2 separate regions of the Homo sapiens genome follow, and region 1 is linked to region 2. Evidence: promoter capture Hi-C in 16 types of primary human blood cells and fetal thymus (Javierre and others, 2016). All regions are on one chromosome and are shown on one strand. Each heading gives the region's core, a stretch centred on a gene start or on the middle of the fragment in contact. The rest is flanking DNA. Distances are from core to core; before and after follow the strand shown. Region 1 holds the start of TMEM232 (transmembrane protein 232). Region 2 holds the start of TSLP (thymic stromal lymphopoietin).

Region 1 (6,859 bases), core at 2,154-4,653, 350 kb before region 2:
AGGGGAAAAAGTTATTCCCGGTAAAGTTATAAGACAATTTTTCTAAAGCCATCATAAAGAAGATAGGATATAATGTAATGAATAACCTCCTGAATGTAAAAATAATAAACAGTTTCATGGGGCAGTCTTTTACACTCAATATAAATATATGACATTACAACAAACATTGATAGATTTTGTGTGACACCAATAAAATGTAGCCCTGGCATTCAGCTTTCTAATAGTCTGGCTGCTACAGAAACAAGCTTTTTGTGCGTCTTTTAAGAAGTGGTTCTATCATGGGCAATACTACCTTCTAGGTAACATCTAGAAATGCATGGATGTGCTTCTGTTTGTCATAATGTCTAGGGTTCTGATAACGGACATTCAGTGCCCAGGGTCCAGGGTTGCTAAATATATTCCTCAATTCCGAGAGAGTACCTCATAAGTAAGAACTGTTGTTCTCAAGATAACAGTATCACAACCTCTCCTGCCTTGAGAAATACTGATCTAGAATTTTGAATTTCAAGCTATGCTCCACAGAAATGACTCATAAGCTATCATATGTGTGAGATGTGTGAGTCTGCATATCATGTGTGTGTGTGTGTGTGTATATATATATCTGTGTGTGTTAGTGTTTGGGAAGTAAGAGGGGGTGCGTCTGCCTCCCTAGACTGACCAGAGCAGCTCCATTTTTACCTGTTTTGTATATTAGACATCCGAATAAGAAAGACATAGTTTAAACAAGAAGGAAAAATATAAATTTATTCATCAGAATCCCAGGGTGGCTTAGAAAAAGGAATCTTAGAAGAAGCAGCTATGGGAGAGAAGCAGAAGCACATCCATGCATTTATGTTGCCTAGCAGGTGGCACTGCCCCTGATAGTTAGAATCACTTCTTAAAACACATAAAAATATTATTTCTGCAGCAGCCAAACCATTAGAGTGCTGAATTCCAGGGCAGTATTTTATTGATATCACATAAAACATTGTCAGGGGTTGGAGGTTAAGTGGGAGGCTGCAGAAGATAGAGATGTGGTAGGGTGGAAATGGAAGACAGAATGAGAGAAGAAAGGACATGGCAGAAATAAAGTTCTTACAATGAAATCACCTTTTCCCCTATATCTTTAGAAAAATAAACTCACAAAAGGCTTGGCTGTTGTATTAATTATCTAATTTGTATAACAAATCACTCCAAAACTCACTGCCATTTATTATCTCTCACAGTTCCTCTGGGTTAGGAATTTGTTAGTGGCATGGCTGGGTATAACTGGCTCATGGTTTCTCATGAAGTTGCAGTCAAATGGCAGCTGCAGGTTCAGTCAGTCAGTCAGCTAGTCATCTAAGTTCAGTCAGTCCTGTCCTCTAAAGAGTTGACTAGGATTGTAGGATCCACTTCCAGGGTGGTTTGTTCACTACACGGCTGTCAAGTAAACACTGGCTGTTGTAGCAGGCCTCAGTTCCTCTTCATGTGGACGTCTCCTCAGAGCTTCCTGTGTGCTCTCATGGAGGCTGGCTTCCCCCAGAGAGAACAATCCAAGAAACCAAGATGAAAGCTTAAATGCCTTTATACCTAGCCTTGCAAAGCCTGTATCATTACTTTACTGCCACCACATTTTATTGGTCATACAGAAGGGCCATGATTCAATGTGAGTAGGAGCTACAAAAGGGTGTGAATGTCAAGAGGCAAAGATTATTGGGAGCATCTTAGAGGCTGGCTACCACAGCCATAGTACTTTTTATATGCTTGTTTGTGTATCTGTCTGTATGTTAGTGGAAGTGAACAAATCCAGGAGCAGAAGTAGACACAGAGTTAATTCTTTGTATTTACTGTTGAATTCAATTTTCTAATATTTTGTTGAGGCTATTTGGATATATTTTCATGAGAGAGACTGGTCTGTAGTTTTCTTTTCTTATAATGTCCTTGTCTTATTTTGGCATTAGGGTAATGCTGGCCTGAAAGAATGAGTTAGGAAGTATTTCCTCTGCTTCTATCTTCTGAAAGAAACTTGCAGATAATTGATATAATTTCTTCCTTAAATGTTTGGTAAAATTCACCAGTGAACCTATCTGGGCCTGGTACTTTCTGTTTTGGAAGGCTATTAATTATTGATTCCATTTCTTTAATAGTTATAGGTCTATTCAGATTATCTATTTTCTCCTTTGTGAGTTTTGGCAGTGGTTATTGTTTTTAATTGAAATTCCTTTAAGGCATTAGACCAGTTGACACATAACCTGAAGTCTATGTGTTCAATCAGAAACATACCTCAAATGTAAGAGACAGGTGGGGCTGTGTGCTTTCCTGTTTGGCAAAATATCTATTATATTTTTGTATCAATGTAATAGAGTTCAAATATAATAAATCATGGCTACTTCTTGGCTAGTACATTGATCACAAGTTGTTTATATTTGGGGGCCTACTGAGATTATTATCCATGGGTACCATTATGTTTAAATTAGACTCTAAATGAGTATCCTGAAAATCTCAAAATCTGTATAGACTGTTAGCTATTAGCAAAGCATTACTTCTGTTTACACAACTCTCCCTATATACATTATCATCTATACTCCTAGGGACTGCTATATCTCTTGGTACCACTAGCTTCCTATCCAATATTCACTCTTCCATTGTTTTATTAAAGCAACCCTAATTTTGTTTGGAGCAGCAAAGTCTCTGGCTAAAAAACATTTCTCCTGAAGCTTTCTTTGCAACTATGAGTTCTAGCTAAAGCTTAGTAGGGGATGTTGGTAAAGTTTACTTTCATGATAGAGGCACAGTACCTTCTTCCTTGTCCCTTCCCAATTTCTTTTACCTCCCTGGATGATAGACATAAGAATGGTGATAGAGCAGTCACCTTGCTATCAAGAGATGACCAGGAAGATGAAAACCACATACAAAGATGATGGGACACAAAGACAGAAGCCTGGAACATTTATGGCATTAGAGATGAACCACAGTCAAGTTGTTGGAGACGAGTTTCTGTTATATTCCATCAAATACAATCCTAGGATATCTCACACCTTCCTGAAAACCCTAGTTCAAACCTATTTCTTCAGTAAGCCTTCTGGGATGTAATAATAATAACTCTTGCATGGGACTTTATTGTTTGCAAAGTACTTTCACATACTTTATATCTTTCGATATTCACATCAGTCCTGTGGCCAGAATACCCTTCTCTTCATATTCTCACCTCTCTGGAGTTGATGCCATCCATCCCTATACTGTAAACCACACTGTAGAACAATGACTCCCAAGCAGCTGCCTCCAATCTTGACCTCTCTTGAGCTCTAGATTTGTTTTCCAACTGAATTCTGGGCACCCAGCTCAAAGACGAGTACTTGAAACATCTAAACTGTGTATAACTTAACCTGTTATTTTCTCATTTCAGGTCCCTAAACACTGCTCTTAATCCAGTATTATTTTAATAAATCTCAGTTAATATAATCACTCAAACTGACAAGCTAGAAATTTCAGAGTTATCCTCAATTCCATGCTCTCTATAACTTCCCAAAACAATCAGGAATCAAATCCTAGATCACGGCCACTGCCATGAGATTAGGTTCTCATCATTTTTCTGGTGGACTACTGTTAAGATCATTTAACTGGCCTTCTGCAGAAAGGCATCCTAAAAGATAAATCAACTATTTTTATTTATTCATTCACCAAATAGTTAAATGACTAGTCTTCTGCAGAAAGGAACTCTAAAAAAGAAATCAATTATCTTTTATTTATTCATTCACCAGATAGGTATAGAGCACCTGCTACATAATAAATATTATAATGTTAAAAATATGGTTTCAACAAAAAAACTTGCCATGTTATAGTAAGAAGCTAGTAATCCTAAAGTCGATATAGATTTAGCAAGTGATTTATTATATTACTGTTGAAAACGCAATGAAAGTAATAGGAATAAAATAATTTACTAAGGTGGTATATTTTTTAAAGAGATTTGTTTTCTTTGGTATTGTAATGAATCAGCAGGAAACATTTTAAAGAAATGAATTCATTTGGTTTTATGGAAATATAAGCAAAAATAAAAAGTGTGATATATAGTTTAGAACATTAATTTCTAAAATACATTCTGTAAAATACTGCTTCTTGGGATGAAACTACCTCGAAAAGCTTTCTGTTGTGAAATGTTTGAGAAACCACTGGATTAGACAAAAATAAGTAGGTTTGCATATACTAAGATTTCTCAGTGTTAATATTCTCATATATACTCTACATCTCTCTGAGTAGCAGTGTGACATGTAGTACTTTAAAATTTATTGACTAAAGAAATCTTTAGAACATCATCTCCTAGAACTACATACAGGACACATTTTGGAAAATGTTAAGCATTTGTGAGCAGACACTTTACCAGGAGCTCTGGATGGACAATGAACTTCAAGACAGGAACATTTATCAAATTTATCATAACAATGAATGATTCTGATAATGAATCAGACGTTCAGCAAGAATATAGCACTACTCATTAAGATCATAAGGGTCCATGCAGAATAGGTCTTAGTGAAATAAAAATCTGCTACCTTCAATCAAGTATGTATGTGGATTACCCAAACCAAGAATGTTTATACTTTAAAGAGAAATGTTTCAGCTCATGAAATGGCTCCAGCAGTCTGCCTGGGTGCTTGGCAGTTCATCTGCAACCTGGCACAGACCCAGATTTCTTTTTTTAGTTTTACTATTAATTCTTCATGTATTTTTTTAAAGTTCCAATAAAAATGAGGTTGAAACTGTATACTTTAAAAGACAATTTCTGAAAAACAGATAATATTAAAATTATATCAAGACTTTGGAAAGGTAACATGCATTAGAGAATATAAGATTTAGACTCTAACCTGAGGAAGCAAATTATTTGACCAACCAAATGATAGAATTTGTTCAGACATACTGTTAAGATGGTAAGGTAAATAAGAGACTCTTACTACAGTCTTATCCCCTCCTAGAAATTTTTCTAATAGACAACTTGGATATTTTTCTCAAGATTAACGGCTTTTAAAAATTGTTTTATTACACATCTCCAATATACCCCCCTCTCTCTTTCACACACACACACACACACACACACACACACAGAGCGCCAAATTTTTGAACCTTCTCTTTTGAAGTCCAAGAGTCTTCATACTAAATAAATAATAAATAAATAAAAATCAAAAAGGTGCAATTTCACCAACCACAGAGGATGTGTGAAGACTGGTCTTCTGAATTCAAGGTTGCCCCAGGATAAGCGAGTCCAGGGGAGATTAAATGAATTTCCCTATTCATAGCAATAAGAAAGTTCCCACCTCCTTTATTCTCCCCAACAAAAAAGCTTCCCCTATCAAACGACCTGGTGGCTTTTCCAGGATGGACTGCTTAGACTCTTAGGAGGGGCCCAGATAGCAGGCCCAGCCTGGGGTTGCGAGTAGTGTTTCTTCTAACAAAGCTATGGCACCCTGAGAAAGGAGGCTCAGTATTCCCCTGTGAGGATCTTTGTGGGTCTTTCAGTTGCCCTAGGATGGTGAATATGACAATAACCTGAGCTCCCAAATCATCTGAAGCAGGACCTCTTAATCACTCACCGCTGCGCTCTGAGCCGCTGGGAACCAAGGCTGGTTGCTAAGGACGCTGTGGGAGTCGCTCTGAGACAGACGTTGCTCTTTTACGGTCTCGTGACCAGGGCTTAGCCAATCAGGACTTATAAGTGAATTTCCACCTGCCCTGTCCCGTCTCCACCACATTTGTGTTCAATTTCTAAAGAATAAATGCAATGTTGTGTGAAAGACCTTTATTCGTTTTTAAAGAACATAGTAATGATTTGTTTCGAATATTGTACATACTTGCATATCCTGCAAGAAGCCACGGCAAGAAGCGGCTTCACAGTGCTTTAATGTCTCCTCAGTGTCTTAATGCTGCTTCCCCAAAACAAACCAGCACGCCTATCATACCAAAAGTAGCTATGTCTTTAAATTAAATTGCCGTTCGTAAGTTCCTTTTACATAGAAAATTTGGAGCAGTCAGTGTCCTCAGCACCCGTCAGTGAGTAAACAAAGCACCTAGAATGTTCTGCTATGTACTAAACACCAGAGGGCGAATTTAAACACAAAAGAACGCCTCTTTTTAAAGGTAGTATGCAATAGAATTATCTAATATAAGTCCTTTAAAAATCCTTGTAGAATTCCTATGTCTACTAACGAGCAACTGTATATATTTTACAAAGGTTCACCAGTGTAAAATACTATATGGAAGAATGGGGAAGGGCATTTATGATTAAATTCATACGTAGGCCGGGCGCAGTGGCTCATGCCTGTTATCCCAGCACTTTGGGAGGCCAAGGTGGGCGGATCACGAGGTCAGGAGTTCGAGACCATCCTGGCTAACATGGTGAAACCCGTCTCTACTAAAAATACAAAAGTTAGCCAGGCGTGGTGGCACCCACCTATAATCCCAGCTACTCAGGAGGCTGAGGCAGGAGAATTGCTTGAACCCAGGAGATGGAGGTTGCAGTGAGCCGAGATCATGCCACTGCACCCCAGCCTGGGAAACAGAGCGAGATTCCATCTAAAGAAAAAAAAAATACTAAAACGTAATATACAGGGATTGTCCTGTGAAATGACCTGCCTTTAAAAATTAGAACTTTGAAAGAAAATTTAACTTGAACTACTTCGATTCGGAATTAAGTTTTTTTGTTTTTTGAGTGCATTTTTATGTTTAAAACAGAAATTACAATATGTGATCTCAGGCTTCTCTGACGTATCACTCCTAGAAGATCAGTAAGTTAAAGGTAATAATGAAAAGTGAAATTGACAAAGACTATAAACTACATATGTGAGAGAACAAATCCTAGAATATCAACAGTGCTTACCATAATCCAGATAAAATAAAAATGAAAAGACTG
Region 2 (6,583 bases), core at 1,344-3,843:
TACCTACTTTTAAAGAACTCGCAATCTAATAGAGAGATAAGGTTGAAAAACATTATTGAAATGTTAAGTAATCTATAGAAGCCATAGAAAGAAGTCCAAAATAGATACGGCTTACAGGATAATGAGGTCACATCCTGGTAGGAGACCACTTTTGGAGACATCAAATAAGATGAACATGGCAAGACATGAAAATCTAACATCTCAGATTGGGAAGAAAACAGCTCAGAGCATGTTTAGAGCATATTACCTTCAGATACTGTTTGCTGGAAGCCTAGGAAAATGAAGGAAATAGGGCTGGAAAGACAGCTTGGAGCCAACGCAGGAGGGATAATTGTAATCTCAAAACAACCTTGAGTAGGTTGTTTTGCCATAACTTTTTGAGCAGACAAGTAATATAATCCAGGTGATCTAAGAGGTCACATAATTACAGATAAGGAAATTGGGGGCAAAAGGAACAAGTGTTTAGCAATGTTTTAACAGACAAAGAGACACCTGGGATGCCTTAGAAAGAGATACCCTGCCTACCTCATCTGAACAAAGACTCTACATAGATCATAGACACAAGGGGTTTTTAAAAGAGGAAACAAAAAAAGGGAGGCAGCCTGGTTATACCTCCAGAAGAATGCAAGTCGAAGCTCAGTGTAGGCTGCTTTCTGTTGTTCTTGCCCCCATCAGCAATCAAGAGATGAAGCCGAAGGTTCTAGTGGGCACTCACACTCTCTGGCCCTACAGCAAGCCACTAGAGGGGAAGGCATGTCAGGTGAGGGTGACAGAAGCAGCCACCATGCCCTTTCCTTTGTCTCTTGGAGCTATCCCAGCCCAGTGAAGAAATCTAAGTTTAGCTCCTGTCTGCCTATATAATAATGTCCAGCTGCCGACCAGAATAATCTCTGATGTCACAATAGATTAATCAGGTTTTGGCATCATCCCACAATACCCTGAGAAGTTGGTGATGGGGGAAGAGTGGACTTTTTTTTCAAAGAATGCTGTGGTGACTCGAGTACAACACATGAAGAATTCCAGAAAAGAGCCATTTTTGAAGTCAGCGGTGAATCAGAGGTTTTCTGACCCTCTCGAGTGCCTTCTATGAAGAAGAGTTCAACTCTGGCTCCAGTTTGTCCCCTACTCTTTTCCCGAATCCCTCGACATTCCTTGCTCTTTTCCCCAGGCACCGCATGGCCTGTGACATTTGCTGGGACTCACACACGGCGTCCAACCTCCTTTCTCCGAGCGATGACTCCTAGGAACTTCCCAAGGACCAGAGCGATGCAGGCTCCGACACGCGAGGGCGGGGGGCGGGGGTGAGGGGTGCGATGGACGGGGGAGCGGAAGGGAAAGAGAGAGAGAGGGGACCTGGGTGTAGAGAGGGCCCAGGGCCGCATGAGCCAAGCCAGGGAGGAGCAGGGGGTTCATCTCAGCAACCTGATCGGTGTCGGCCTTTCCCTCCCTTCAACCCTCCATTGGTGTTGCTGGAACTGGGAAGACTGCTAGACAGACATCCTCTAGGGCACTCTCCCTGACTCACTTTGCTGTGCTTTTAAGCGCTCTTTTCTGGATCAACAAGAGTTTGCTAGTAAAAATCTGAGCCCGCCATCTCGATGCTTCTCCTGTCTCTAAAACTGGTGCCCGGGCTGAGGCCCCAGGTGACAGACGTTTTCCAGTCTACGCTGCGCGGGGCTAAGCCTCTGCGAGGCAGAGCGCACTAAAGCGTGCGCCGCCTCCGGGAGAGCTGAGCTCAGGACAGCATCGTCTCCGTGCGGTCGCCGCTGGGCACCCAGCAGCGCGGTCTGGCTCCGCTTCTTGTGTCGCTGGCCTTAAGAGTGGGACTGTGAAGGTGGCTGGGCGCTGGAATTTGTGGTTTTAAAAGTTCTTGACACCTGCTAGAAAGTGCTAGAGGACTCTTCAGCCCCTAAGGTGCCCCTAGCCACCAAGAGTAGGCGTTTTTCCTGAAATTGATATGGGAAATTTGAAAAGTAGGGTTTTTGAGAACAAGCCACATCAGATCTTTCCCCACTTATTTCAACCTCTTATCGTTCCTGCCCCTAAGGTTCTGGTCACGGTTGCACATTTAATGCTTTCACATGGAAGTGCTGTCGAAGACTGAGACTGCACCCCACCCTCCAAAGCATCCCATAAGCAAGCACAGTTTCTTACTAGCCAAGGAGAAGGGAAAGCACTAGTTGAAAGTGGCCACAGGAAATGCTCAAAGATGTTCAGAATGCATGGGACATATGCAAGGACTCCAAATCCTTACAGTGGCTGCTGGTTTCAGAAGGTGTTTCTCCCAAATAGAAAGGATTGGTCACGGAAATGCCCTGTAGGAGAAAGACACTGGTATCCGTTTCTTAAAGGACATTCACACTTATGAAGTGTTTAGGGCAAAGCAAAAAGGAGGAAGGTGAGGGAAATTCCTGATGACTTTACTGATGTTAAAATTCCATAGATTTAGCTACTCCTTTTTTTTTTTCCTTTCACATCATCAATTCAGAATTCTATAAAGGAAGAGAATGACATGGTAGAAAATCATTGGCCTAGGAGAAAAGAGCCCGTAGGCGTTTAGGTGTTATATAGTGCAGCCAGAAAGCTCTGGAGCATCAGGGAGACTCCAACTTAAGGCAACAGCATGGGTGAATAAGGGCTTCCTGTGGACTGGCAATGAGAGGCAAAACCTGGTGCTTGAGCACTGGCCCCTAAGGCAGGCCTTACAGATCTCTTACACTCGTGGTGGGAAGAGTTTAGTGTGAAACTGGGGTGGAATTGGGTGTCCACGTATGTTCCCTTTTGCCTTACTATATGTTCTGTCAGTTTCTTTCAGGAAAATCTTCATCTTACAACTTGTAGGGCTGGTGTTAACTTACGACTTCACTAACTGTGACTTTGAGAAGATTAAAGCAGCCTATCTCAGTACTATTTCTAAAGACCTGATTACATATATGAGTGGGGTAAGTGAAGAAGCTTTTTTAAAACAAATGTATTTTCATCAGAGGAGTCGGCATACACACACTCTACAATTTAACTTTGTAGGAAAGAAAAATAATTTAGAAAAAATCATGGCCCCACATTTTGTCAAGGATTCTTACAAGTGATATTCAAATATCTAATCTAAAATGATTATCTAGAAATTGGCACATTCTAAGTGTGCAGATGCTGATGAGGAGCAGGTATTGATAGACAGCGCGTTATGCGTCAAAGGATGTCTATCCTTTGCTAAAGTGTTACTCTGACTATGCTGTAAAAAGCAGGAGGTAAGAGCTTAAGAAAGAGGAGTAAAAGAGATAATTCTCATGAGATAAACTCTAAGGATTGATGCTGTGCTCCAGGTCTCTCCAGTGTTTTAGATGTTTCAGGATGCTATTTATTACAGAATATGGTGTACTTGGAATTTTTTTTAACATACAGTAGTAATCATTTTCCTGATTAACCTAATTTCTAGACAGAGTTTGCATTCATGAATGGCCACAGTACAGATGCGGACATCCAAAGGATGGCATTATTACTCACAAGCATAGTGCTATGTGCAGTTATGGCTTGAGGGAAGGGAGGGGGGAGGTCGCCCTCTGAGACCTGAACCTTTTGGTGTGGTTTCAAGCACTAACCAGCACTATCTAATGGCTATTTCACTGCCTTGTCAATGACATAGGAAAAAGGTACCTGAGTGGAAACTGTTTTCAGGGCACCTTTAAAGCCTGGGAGCAAAGGGTGGAGGGATGATTTTCCTTGTGGACTTAAAAGTCTTTACCCTCTTTGTCCTATTTTTCTTTCTTCCAGACCAAAAGTACCGAGTTCAACAACACCGTCTCTTGTAGCAATCGGGTGAGTAGAGAGTTCAGTGCTGCTGGCTTTCTCCAGGGAGACGCCAGGCATTTTGGAGAGGGAGTATCCTGCTACGTGCAGAACTCCGAGAGGTGCCTGGGCTCCGGGACGCCGCCGCCGGGGGAAAGGGGACATCTGGGCTGTCAGAGCGGGGCTGCGCCTAGCTTGGGACAACACTTCTGTTCCAATTTAGGGAGAGGAAGTCTCTATCCGGAGGAAAGGCAAATTGGGAACTGGGACGAGGGAACGTTGTTAGGGGCACCACCTGCTGGGGTCCGGCGCCTCCGCGCTCGGGCTCGGAATTTTGGCAGCCTCCGCCCCCTGGAGACTTGGGAGGAGCGAGCGTGGGTGACAGTCTTTTCGCGACGAGTGCCCTCCGCCACCCTCGCCACGCCCCTGCTCCCCCGCGGTTGGTTCTTCCTTGCTCTACTCAACCCTGACCTCTTCTCTCTGACTCTCGACTTGTGTTCCCCGCTCCTCCCTGACCTTCCTCCCCTCCCCTTTCACTCAATTCTCACCAACTCTTTCTCTCTCTGGTGTTTTCTCCTTTTCTCGTAAACTTTGCCGCCTATGAGCAGCCACATTGCCTTACTGAAATCCAGAGCCTAACCTTCAATCCCACCGCCGGCTGCGCGTCGCTCGCCAAAGAAATGTTCGCCATGAAAACTAAGGCTGCCTTAGCTATCTGGTGCCCAGGCTATTCGGAAACTCAGGTAAGCCCGAAGCCTCAGACGTTTGCTGTACCTTGGGGCTAACCTCAAATTAAACTGGGGCTTTGGTGCAGAAGTCGTTCTCTTATTTTTATTTAGGTTTTATCTTTCGAAGAGCAAACGAGCCGGGTAAAAGTGGTAGGATGTCAGTTAGACCCACGTTGATACCCGGAATCAAACTCACCTATTTCTACGGTTCTGATACTGTTTTGGCTGAATTATGGTTCTAAACCTTAGGGCAATGTTTCAAGCTATGATGAGTGAGACTTCTATATCAGAATGTTTTGATTGCTGGAGCATAAGAGTATGGCTGCTAAAAATGCCAATTCCCAGGTACTCAACCCAGACCTTCAACATTAAAATCTCAGATTATGGGGCTCCTTAAGAGATTCTTGTCCAGTCCAAAGTTTGAGCAACACCTCTTGTTCTTATCACTTAATTATTGTGTGCTTATTTGCTAAATGTATAATTACATTATACATAAAATCTCTATCCTATGTTTGCTTAATTGCTTGTGTGGGCGCTATTGCTGTCTCTTTACACATTTTTGCACATGTAGTTATCTGCATTTGAATGCTCGTGTAGCATTAAATATGGAGATAGTGTAGTGGAAAGTTAGGCACAGGAACTCTGGAGACAACCTGCCTGACTTTGAATCCTGGCCCTATAACTTCTGTGAAGACTTAGTTAAATTACTTAGCCTCCGTGTACTGTAGCTTCATGGGTAAAGTAAGTATCATATCAGTTAGTCTTATACAGGTTGTTTCTGAGGATTAAATTAGTCAACACATGTAAATGCAGTTGGAACAGTGCCTGGTACACAACAGGCACTCAATATTTATTTCAGTCAGCAAGTAGAGGATTTATCTTCATGGTGACAAGTTTAAGGAACAGAGAGAGACAAGTGCAGATATGTTTGATTGCTCCTTATTAGCCTAGTGGACTTTATATGTCTACAGTCTAGGTAGATGGACACGACTGTCACTTTTTTTTTTTTTTTTTTTTTGAGACAGAATCTCGCTCTGTTACCCAGGCTGGAATGCAGTGGCACGATCTCAGCTCACTGCAACCTCCATCTCCTGGGTTCAAGCCTCAGCCTCCCGAGTAGCTGGAACTACAGGTGCCCGCCACCACGCCTGGCTAACTTTTGTATTTTTAGTAGAGACGGGGTTTCACCATATTGGCCAGGCTGGTCTCGAATTCCTGACCTTGTGATCTGCCTGCCTCGGCCTCCCAAAGTGCTGGAATTACAAGCATGAGCCACCATGCCCAGCCAAAACTGTCACTTTCTAGAGGTTGAGGATTGAAGCCATAGCGCTGATCTGGGTTGAGCTTGAATTAGAAACTCAATACCAGACAGCCATATGGGAAACCTATTTGGCTTCATGCCTTCTTATGAAGGAGACCCTGGCAAATCTGCAGATGGCTACAATAAAATTCATTTAAATAAGAGCACAAACAAAAAGCTAGATCAAGTTCTTGGACAGCATGTGAGAAAGGGAGAGTTTGGAGAAATTTATTTCAGTCCCTCCCAAGCCCAAATGGAGAGTCTAAGACTAATAATAATGATTTTGCAGGTTTTTTTAAGATTTGTGCTTAATAACCCTGTGACTTTATTAATTTGCATACCATGTGTCTAGGAGGCCCAGTGTACTACTCAAAGGTAATTCAGATAAAGGTATATACTGCAATCCTCTTTAAAATAAGCCCTCAGATGTCTGTGACACATCTAGACAATGGGGCAGGGGAGGGGGAAGGATGGGGAGCAGGAGCATGCATTTTGGGTCCAAAAAATAGACTAGGTTTATTGAATGATGTCTATAAACAGGTATAAGATAGCTCTTGCCCATGAGGAACTTGTGATCTTGTCAGGGAGGTCTTGAAATCAGCAATTTATTCATTTACTTAATCACTCAACAAATATTCAGTGTTTCCTATGATTAAGACACTGTATTCAGTGCTATGGGGAATACCTATGATGCAATATAAAGAAAAGCATGTTAAGTGAGAGCCAAGTTAAATGACACACACTCTTAAGTACTGGAAGAGTTTCCAAAAGC

The links. Contacts are between HindIII fragments. The CHiCAGO score rates a contact against its expected background, and 5 or more counts as called.
Region 1: a contact is called between a fragment that was not itself captured here and the fragment with the promoter of TSLP in region 2, in 1 of 17 cell types (M2 macrophages). The highest score is 5.6, in M2 macrophages.

Annotation. Positions count from the first base shown.
Region 1 is chr5:110,721,084-110,727,942 of GRCh38, forward strand. TMEM232 (transmembrane protein 232) reads right to left here and starts at 5,588. Exons shown (of 14, transcript NM_001039763.4): 1 at 5,544-5,588. The HindIII fragment of the contact is 1,392 bases long and covers 2,708-4,099 here.
Region 2 is chr5:111,069,120-111,075,702 of GRCh38, forward strand. It overlaps TSLP (thymic stromal lymphopoietin), which reads left to right and starts at 2,594. Exons shown (of 4, transcript NM_033035.5): 1 at 2,594-2,942; 2 at 3,769-3,813; 3 at 4,392-4,526. The coding sequence starts at 2,772. The HindIII fragment of the contact is 3,260 bases long and covers 1-2,953 here.